2 separate regions of the Homo sapiens genome follow, and region 1 is linked to region 2. Evidence: promoter capture Hi-C in 16 types of primary human blood cells and fetal thymus (Javierre and others, 2016). All regions are on one chromosome and are shown on one strand. Each heading gives the region's core, a stretch centred on a gene start or on the middle of the fragment in contact. The rest is flanking DNA. Distances are from core to core; before and after follow the strand shown.

Region 1 (4,988 bases), core at 2,407-4,906, 520 kb after region 2:
GCCCCAGGAGGAGCTGCTGTCTGCAGAGAGGCTGGACTCAGAGGACGGGGGCTCTGGGGTCCCTGCTGGGTGCAGCTCTCGTTCATCCACCATGGACCCCTGCGGGGACAGGCCCCAGCCTGAGGGGAAGTCCAGCCCTTCAGCCGGAGCCAGCAGGCTGAGGGAACAGGAGGGTGAAGAGGCCCAGCTGTCCCCATCGGCCGTAATGTAGGAGCCCGAGGGTGAGGCGGGGGGCGAGTCCAGCAGCTCATCCCGCAGCTCAGCCTCTGAGTCCCTGGCGTCCCCGTGGGGCCCACAGGCAGGAAGCAGGGCATAGGTGGTCTTGGTGGGGGTGGAGGGAGGCGTGAAGAAGGAATCAGGGTCTGGGGGAGGGGAAGGCACAGAAAGATCACCCTGAGAACACAGCTCGGGGGGTGGGTCTGGGCTTGCGTGCCCACCCTCCTGGTCCCTGAGCGCTGTCCGGGCAGCTCTGGGTGACAGGAGGGCCTGGCACGTCTCCTCTCCCATCACAATCCGGGGCTCCAGGGTGGCCGGGAGAGGAGCCTCCGTGGACAGAGCCTGGGAAGACAGGCCCTCAGGGAGGAGCATGGGGCTTGGGCCGCCCTCCCCTGGGTCCGCCCAGGCCGAGGGTGCCCCACCAGGCCCTGCATCCCAGCTGGCTCCCTCGGGCTGGGGCCGGGCACCCGGCTTGCTGGGCAGGAACGTGAGGGCCAGGTGGCTGGGCCCTGGGGTCAGAGCACAGGGCTCCCGCCGGTCCCCTCCCAGGATGGTGGTGGCAGCGGCCGCATCGCAGGACAGATCTGTGGAGATAGAGAAGATCATGAGGTGCCCCTGGATGCATCTCCCAGGCAAGGGCCAGGCCCGGGGAGATGAATTCCGGCTGCATAGGGCCCAGAGGAAGGTGGATCCAGGAAGGCAGGAGAGAAAAGAGAAGACCCTCTGCACGCTGCGTTTGAGGGAGAACTTCCAGGAGTTTTGACAGCAGAGAGCAGATGCTAGTGGTTTCCTAGAGAGGGGTTTTGAGGGAAGTGTTGCTGGGAGTCATGAACAGACCTGTCTGGCGGCTTTTCTCAAGGACACCTCAGCAAAGAACTAGCATTTCAGCCTCTCTGGGGAGACTGGATTGCAGTTTCCATTCCACAGAATCAGTGTGGTTCAGCTGGGCTCGGTGGGAGGGGCTGGTGGTGGGAATCTGCCAGGCAGTGCCAGTCCCATCCCATGACCTCCCAATAGATGCGCCACATGAGGCAGGTGGCACCAGCACGACGCGCGCAGCTCGAACACTCTGGGCTTCATGCCTCGCTCTGCCTCCTCTCTCTGCTGTCCTTGCTACCTACACTTGAGGCCAACATGTCAGGGTTTCACCAGGCCCCTCTGACCCTGCTCCCCTCCTGCACCCAGGGAGATGGGGAAGCCAGGGGCCACCACACGCAGCCAAGTTTCTGGAGAACAGAGATGAAGTGTCCCGTGGAGGCTTTGCTGGAGCATCTGGCCACAAGGGCAGTGGTGGGCAGGAACGGAGACCATGGAGCCCAGCAAGAGCACAGGACAGCTTCAGAGGGCCAACAGCAGCCTCTGGCTGAGTCCTCTCCTTGGTGGCAGCCACCCCATGGGTGACCACCAGTTCCTTCCCGGGTGCTGGGAGTTCCCACCCTGCCCTGTGGGCCTTCTCTGGGTCCCATGATGCACTCCCCCAACCCGCTGGGCAGGCTTCAGTATGAGGAGGCTCTGGTACTCAGTAAACGTCTGTGAGCTAACACACCTCCAGCTGAGAAAGGAGTCCATAGGAAGTAGCCCTCATGGGTCAGAAAGGACTTAGGGGACTCAGGAAGATGGAAGAAAACCCCTCCGAGGTTGCGGCACACCAGACCGCTATGGTTTTCTGCCTCCTGGACTCTTACTGGCCTGTATTTTATCACAGGCGAGATCACATTGCACATTCAGTTTTGAATCTAGCTATTTTCACCCAACCTAATCTCATAAGCATTTTCCTGTGTGCTCTAAATGCTCATAAGCTTCATTTTAAATGTCTCCATTATGTCCACTCCCTCACTTGGACCTAGGCCAAAGGCACCTCTGTTTGAAGCATCCAATGAAGGCCCTTCAGAGCCCAGGCCAGGTCTTGCCCAAGGTGGGGGAGCGGCGGCACACAGGGGCCAGCTCTCCAGGCTGCAGATGCCTGCCTGGTGGCTCCTGCTCTCCCGCACTCACTGGTGACCAGGACAACATCTCTTGCACCTCAGCTTTCTCATCTACAAAGCAGAGCCAGGATTAGAGTTGAAGCTGAAAGAAGGGGGACCCTGTTGCCAGGCTGCTCCAGCTCCCCTCAGCAGCATCAGAGCCCTGAGCCCTGAACCACCAGCCAAAACTTGTCACCCAAGGGCTTTGCTGCTGGGGTGATGGGACATCCAGGGGGTCCTGAGACAAGGGGGTCCTTTGGGTTCTTGCATGCCTGACACCCAACATCAGGAGTGGGCGTGGCTGGTGGGGCATCACTGGGTGCCCTGAAGCTGGGCTCTTGGTTCTGGCCCCTGGTGTGGCCCCCAGGGCAGGGGAACGGCTGAGCTGTTGGGATGGAGCAGAAACCAAAGGCCAAAGGTTTTTATAACTCATTCAAGGTCACCAAGCAAGCCAGAACAGAGCCAGCACAAGACCCTGGGGCTGGGAAGTCTGGGCCTGCACTCCCTGCCTCCCACCTAGAGCAGAGGCAGCAGCCTGTGTCACCCCAAACCAGGCCCCAGGCCCCAGCAGTGGTCCCATCTCTGGGTGACTTCTTGCCCACAGCAAGGTGCCCTTGGCCCTACCCACACATGGCTGACCTCCACGCCAGGACTGTCCAGGCTCGGCTCTTTCTAGGCCCCGTAGACCCCATCAGCCTCCACCAGCATTTGTTGACCCAGCCTAAGGACAGGTGGTCTGCACACCCAGGGCCATTGCTAATCAGGCCACCTCCCCCAAGGCCTTCCACCTTCCAGACCCAACTTAGGCTTTATTCCACCACCTGGCCCTCCATCCGGGCTTCCTAGGCTCTGGCCAGTCCTGCTCCTCCCTCCAGAGCCATGACCAGTCGCCGGCCCAGGACAGACCGGGTGCAACTGAGGACCCTCCCGGTGGTCACCTGATCGTACTGGGGGTATCAGCCGGACACCCCGCCTCCAGAACCCGCTGCCTCTGTCCAGAGCGGCCCAGCCCCAGCAGGCTGGCAGCTCGGTGCAAACAACGGGATGCAGCGGGCGGGATGCGAGCCCCACGATCCCTGGGTCGGAAGCCAAGGGCTTAAGCCCCCACGTTCTTTCTGGCTCGCGGCGGGCACTTCGTGCGCCCCACCTTCCCCGCAGTTCTGAGAGAGGCGGTAGCAGGGTTCAGATGGAGGGAAGGACAGGGCGCGGAAAGGGGAGGGGACTCGAGGGGGGCCAGGGGGATGGGGGAGAGGGGTGAAAGGTGAGCGATGGAAAGAGAACCCGGGCTGGAGAGGGGAGAGGCTGAAGGCAGGGAAAGAGTGGCCACGGCCTCACCTGTGCGGGGCCCGGGTCGGTCCGCCTCGGGCAGCAGCAGCTCGGCGCGGGCAGCCTCCCCAGGCATGGCCTGGCCGTGCGCCCGCCCGTCCCTCAGTCCTTCCGACCCTCCGTCAGTCCGTGCCGCCGCCCCGCCGAGCCTGCGCGGCCACCGCCCCTCGGCCGGGCGGTGGGGGCAGTGGGTGACGTCAGGCCGCCCCGCCCGCCTGTCCCAGCGAGTGAGCGTGCGCGGGCTCGCCAGGCACTGCGGAGGGCGTAGGGGGGGCTCCCTCCCCGCCCCCACCCCACCCGGCTGTGGCCTCCCTCTCGCTGTGGGCGGTTTCGTGGGGGAGCGGGGGTGGGCGCCTGCGCCCGGTCCCACCCTTTCCACAGCATTTACGAGGGAGGGTTTCAGGGCCAATTGGAAGCTGGGTTGCCTCAGGGTGGCATTCGCCCGTGGCCAGGAAGAGGCGGGGACGCCCCTAGAACCCTGGTTGTGGGAGGCTGGGGAGGTGGTTGGGATTCTGGGATGCTCGGAGCGCTTTGGGTGGAGTTGGCGGCGCAGCCTCCTTCCCCGCTGACCAAGCAGAGGGTGCAGGGCCTGGGGAGGGAGGGGGCCCCGCCCAGCCCGATGCCTCCATGCAAAAGGTGAGCTGGAGCTGCAGCTCTGGAGTGATTGGCTGGTCCTGGCAGTCGTCGGTCTCCGTGGCAACCGCCTCCTGTCTCCATGGCAACCAGGGATGGAGCCGACGAGAGCGCACCAGGGAAGGCGACCCGGATGGGTCGGTCTCCAGGTCTCTAGGCAACTCGGTGATCTGTCCTATCATCTCCCCTCCACCCCCACACTAGGCAGTAGAAGGAAAAGGAAGAAAGTGTTTCCCTCTATTCCTGGCAGCACCCTCTGCCACACCTCCCAGGAGGAAGCCCGCCCCGTGAATTTCCTGAAATGCCTCTTGCTTTCACACAGGCTACTGCGCCACCCAGATTCACTGAGCACCCCTCCTCCCCCGTGCCAGGCACCAGGGAGACAGATGAATGAGACATTGTCATCACCCCTGACTGGGGTGGGGGGAATCAGAGTAGCCATTGTCACAGGCAGGGAGGGAGGTTTCAACATCCTCAGTCTTCTGTGGGTTCTAACTTTGAGCTCATGAAGCCAGGGGCTGCCCTCTGACTCCCCCAGACCTGCCTCAAGGCTCAGTGCTACACACCTGGCTGCCTGCTGGGCATCTCTCCCCGCTGTACCCCAGGAGTCAGACACACCACACCATTAGAATTAACATCAACTTCAAACAATCTCTTCCAGAAAACAAAAGAGAAGGGGACACTTCCTAACTCATTTTATAAGGCAAGAAATATCCTGATGTCAAAACTAACAATGTGTCGCCAGGCGCGGAGGCTCACGCCTGTAATCCCAGCACTTTGGGAGGCCGAGGCTGGCGGATCACGAGGTCAGGAGATCGAGGCCATTCTGGCTAACGTGGTGAAACCCCG
Region 2 (5,078 bases), core at 683-3,182:
AAACACATCAATAAAGGACTACATTGAGAAGGGAAGGCCTACAGCAACAGGCCTTCTGAAAGGTAAAGTTTACTTAAGATGAGAACCTTGGCCTTAGAATTTTGGCTCTGCTGCTCAAAGCTGCCCCTTAGGGGAGGTCCTTGCTCAGGATTTTAGGCAAAGCATGGCCTGAAATGGGAGACATCCCTTGTGGACACTTGGAAATATATAGTGATTTTAGACCACTGGCTTTTAGTGCCTCAGGACCAGGGATGAGACACTAAGTGACAACTGTCCCACCCAAAACACCAAAGAATCCCCTAAGAAGGAGCATCAAGATCTTTGAGTGCCCCCATGTCTGCAGCTCCAGACACTTCCATGGTGCCTCTTACCGGGTTATGTAATATCAGCTCCTTGAGTGCTTGTACGTCCTCGTTAAAAGTAGCTGACATGAGAAAAGCCTGGTAAATCCGGGGCAAGTGACTGAAATGAAAGAATCCAATCAGATTCCAGCTCCAAGGGCCGCTAATTGTAGTAACTGGCTTCCAGCCACCCCGCTCTCGTCCCAACTCCTACTCACAGATGTTTCCACTAGGAATCACACCCACCTCTGCCTTACCAGAGGAGACTCTTGAGCTCTTCTTCAAAGCCAAAGGAAAAAAGAAGGTCAGCTTCGTCCACCACCAAAAGCTCCAGGGAGTCACGAAGTTTCAGGCTGTCTTGCTGCAAGTGGCTTAATATGCGAGATGGGGTCCCTACTACCACATCTGGCTTCTCCATCAGCACAGCTCTGGAGGTGGACAAGACATCAGTATCAGGCAGAATGTAGCAGCTGGGATCTCACCCTGGATTTGCTCTCTTTTTTGCCACACACAAACCCAACCCCACAACACTGTGTAGCTTCATTCAGGTACAGCTTTGCTGCTTTTACCCACCTCTGAGAGACTGAGTCTTCAGCAGCTGAGACATTGGCCACTCGGACATCCCGAGCACAGTAGGTAGCCAGCTGCTGAATCATGGACTGTGCTTGCCGTGCCAGCTCCTTGGTAGGAACAAGAACAAGGCCTCTCACTGCCTGTTCTACCACCGGACCTGTCTGTAAGAATATGAATTAAAGACTTTAGCCAGCAGTGCACATCACTGTGTCCACGTGTCTCTACCCCTTCCAGCCTACCTGACCCATCTGCTGCAACACTACTTAGCAGTACTTTGATCATCTATCACTCTGCCCGCCTCAGAATGCAGAGTGGAGAGTTCTTTCCCCAGGCACTGACCCTCAAAAAGAATAACGTACTCTGATGTTTATGAAGCTACTTTAAATATACTAGTTATGAAGCTAAATTCTCACAATAATTCTGTAAGTAGAAAAGATAGATGTGCTCCCTTTTTATGTAAGAAAGAAAAGAAAGTGCTTTGTCGAAGATTACGCAAAGGTTGGTGGTAGCAGGGCCGGACAAGGATCCAGGTAACCTGAACTCCAGCCCAGAGTGTTTGCCACAACAGCACCAGGTTCTCAGGCCGGCCTGCACGGGTACAGGGCCAAGAGAAAACCTCAGACAAACGGGAACCGCCCTTCCCAGGCTTTTGGAGCTTGCCTCCTTCCTCCCCTCAGCTCTCTCGTTACCCACCGCCTTCCTATGGAGCAACAGCTGCAGCATCGGAATAGCATAAGCGGCCGTCTTCCCGGAGCCCGTGCGGGCCCGAGCCAGGAGGTCCTTCCCTTCTAGGGCCAGTGGGATGGCCTTCTCCTGGATCAGCGTAGGTCGCGACCAGCCCAGATCGGTGACAGCCTAGGAGACCAGGAGTGCGGTTTAAGCGGCGTGAAGAGCGATGGCGCGCCCCGCAGAGCCCGTAAGCCGGCTCCCCAGCCCTCGCGTGTACCTGAAGGAGCCGGGGATCGAGGCCCATGTGTTCGAAGCCCAGTGCTTCAGAGTCCTCCATGGCGCTGCTCAGTAGCGCAGCACGCACGCGCTGCAGGAAAAACGCCACCGACGCGAGCGGGAGCAAAGCAACAACCAATCGGCTTCGGAGACGAAGTCACTTCCCGGAAGTGCTGGCGGCCTAGGCTTCCGGTACTCGGACGGAGCTCTGCGACTGCGCAGTCCCTAGGACTGGGTCTAGTAGGAGGCGGTGGAGCGGCCGTGCTGGGGTCGACGGGGTACTTTGGACTACAGAGCCGCTCCACTGGCTCTTCCGGCGTTCCCGGACGCCGCTGACGCACCTGATTCTCGCGACCTGCAGGAGAAGCCTCGGCCGGGGCGAGGGCCGAGGTCGTGACGGGCATGACCGTCTCTCTGCTTGGTTAGGGTTAGTGTCCCGCCGGGCACATCACCCTATGAATGGAGCCACTGAGATAGACTGGGCTGAGGAGAACCGGTTGGAATAATGAGCCATGGCAGCAACTGCCTGAGAGAGAGGACCGGCGGGTTGCTGTAGGGCTCCCTAACCGGACTGCCTGTCAGAAACCTGCACAGCTTGGTTTCTGTTCTTTGTGTCCCAAATCTGACTCGGGTCACCAGTTAAGACCCGTGTCAGACTTCTGACCTACAGACTTGCGTCGTTTTAAGCCAGTAAATTTGTGGTAATTTGTTACAGTAGCAATAGGAAAATAATACAGGTGAGGACTAAGAATCCTAATCACAAATCTTTTTTTTTTTTTGAGACATGGTCTGACTGTCACCCAGGCTGGCGCGATCTCAGGCTCAAGTGGTCCTCCCACCTCAGTCTCCTGGAAAGCTAAGACTACAGGCACGCACCACCACGTCCAGTTAGCGTGTATGTATGTATGTACGTACGTGTGTGTGTGTGTGTATGTGTATATATGTAACTCCTCCTCCCCTCCCCCCTCCCCTTCTCTTCTTTTCTTTCTAGATGGGGTTTCGCCACGTTGCCCAGGACGGTTTTGAACTCCTGGGGCCAAGCGATCTGCCTTCCTCGGCCTCCCAAAGTGCTGGGATTGCAGGTGCGAGCCACTGCTCCTGGCCCATAAGTCTTTCAGTGTAGAAGAGGGAAGCAGAAGAGGTCAAAGTGGTGCCATGTGAGAGCTCAACCCACCCTTGCTGGAGGAAGGGAGCCAGAGCCAAGCTGGAAAAGGCAAGGAAACAACCTTTGTGATTACATTAGGCCCATCCAGATGATCCAGGATAATTTATTTTACAGTCATCTGATTAGCAACTTAATTCTCTTCTGTCATGTTAGGTAACATATTCATATGTTTCAGAGTGGTAGGCCATTATTCTACCTACCATACCACCCAACACAAATCTACATTAAGACTATATCTGAGTGTTGCACAGGAATCTATGTCAACAAGCTTCCAGGATGATCCTGTGCATCCTATCTGATGCAGCCCAGCATCTGAGTACCAGAGACTAGCATCTGGCTGTTAGGTTAGGAGAGATCAGCTCATGCACCAACAGGTAGTCATGCTGGGACCAAATGATGAAGATAGGTACAACTAGTCCCAGTGAGAGCTGGGGAATTGGGCTGGGATAATAGAGGATGTTAAGAATGGAGTGTCCCCTCAACCCCAGAACTTTTTTTTCTTTTTTTGTGGTAAGGAGGGAGAAGGCTGTTTGGTAAGGATGTTGTAAACTCTGAGAAAGCAAGAATTTCAAAAGTCAAGGGTAGTATTGGGGGGAAAATCACTAGAATTTGTGTGTGTGTACCCTAACTACTGTTTTGGTTTTGTTTTTGTTTTTTAGAAGGAGTCTCACTCTGTCGCCCAGGCTGGAGTGCAGTGGCATGATCTCAGCTCACTGCAAGCTCCACCTCCCGAGTTCACGCCATTCTCTTGCCTCAGCCTCCCGAGTAGCTGGGACTACAGGCACCTGCCACCACGCCCGGCTAATTTTTTGTATTTTTAGTAGAGACAGGGTTTCACCGTTGTTAGCCAGGATGGTCTCGATCTCCTGACCTTGTGATCCGCCCGCCTCGGCCTCCCAAAGTGCTGGGATTACAGGCGTGAGCCACCGCGCCCAGGCCCTAACTGCTGTTTTTTAAAAAACTTTTTAGGTCACAACCTATCTGTAAATATGACACACCAGTATGGAAATCCTTATTCTTCTCACAGCCACCAGCTATTGGCCCATCCACTGACTATCCCAATTCCACCTGCCTTATCAGTGGAAAGGTGAAATGTATGCCCACTTTTTCCTCACACCATTCCCCTTTCTATCAAAAACTACCAAGAGAAACCCAGGACCTACCAAAATAGTTAAGATGTGCTCCACTGTGTCTACTGCCAGCCAAACCTGTTGAAGGCTGGCTCAACCCTAATCTGTGCCTTCCTGTCTTCTCACAAACGTAGTCTGATTTGCTGGCTAGATTTCTAGTAACAGCCACAGAGCAGAAATGTGTCCCTTCCCAATATGTCACATAATCCCCAAGAGCCTCAGGCCAGAAGTCCACAACATGTAACTAGTTCAAAGGATAAAATTTTTCTCTGCATTAATTCTAACATGAGGAATACTGAAAACTCTTTTAAACATCTGAAGAATTTCAGCAATTCACAATTCACCTTACTGGAGTGTTACACTGTCATCCAGATTTAGAAACAGGAGGATATAAAACTATTAAATGGAAAAGCCTAGAGAACTAAATTGCATTTTTTTTTTTTTTTCTGAGACAGAGTCTCCCTCTGCCCCCCAGGCTGGAGTGCAGTGGCTCGATTTCTGCTCACTGCAACCTCCTCCCGGGTTCAAGCGATTCTCCTGCCTTAGCTTCCTGAATAGCTGGGATTACAGGCACACACTACCATGCCTGGCTAATTTTTATACTTTTAGTAGAGAGGGGTTTTCACCATGTTGGCCAGCCTGGTCTCAAACTGCTGACCTCAGGCGATCCCCCTGCCTTGGCCTCCCAAAGTGCTGGGATTATAGGCGTGAGCCACCCCACCTGGCCCTAAATTGCATTTTTTTTTTTGTTTTTTTTTTTCAGATGGGATCACTGTTGCCCAGACTGGAGTGCAGTGGCACGATCATGGCTCACCGCAGCCTTGACCTCCCGGGCTCAAGTGATCTTTCCACCTCAGCCTCTCAAGTAGCTGGGACTATAGGCATGTGCCACCAGCTAAATTTTTTGTATTTTTTGCAGAGACA

What was found. The method cuts DNA at HindIII sites, captures the fragments that hold promoters and counts their contacts. A CHiCAGO score of 5 or more calls a contact.
Region 1: the fragment with the promoter of NACAD here is called in contact with the fragment with the promoter of DDX56 in region 2 in 12 of 17 cell types (fetal thymus, naive B cells, non-activated CD4 T cells and 9 more); the score reaches 9.2 in fetal thymus.

What each region holds. Positions count from the first base shown.
Region 1 is chr7:45,085,313-45,090,300 of GRCh38, forward strand. It overlaps NACAD (NAC alpha domain containing), which reads right to left and starts at 3,657. Exons shown (of 8, transcript NM_001146334.2): 1 at 3,516-3,657; 2 at 1-800. The coding sequence starts at 3,582. The HindIII fragment of the contact is 4,426 bases long and covers 2,014-4,988 here.
Region 2 is chr7:44,571,976-44,577,053 of GRCh38, forward strand. DDX56 (DEAD-box helicase 56) reads right to left here and starts at 1,933. Exons shown (of 14, transcript NM_019082.4): 1 at 1,861-1,933; 2 at 1,608-1,769; 3 at 915-1,075; 4 at 599-769; 5 at 372-462. The coding sequence starts at 1,920. RefSeq lists an enhancer at 1,550-1,699. The HindIII fragment of the contact is 6,359 bases long and covers 1-3,290 here.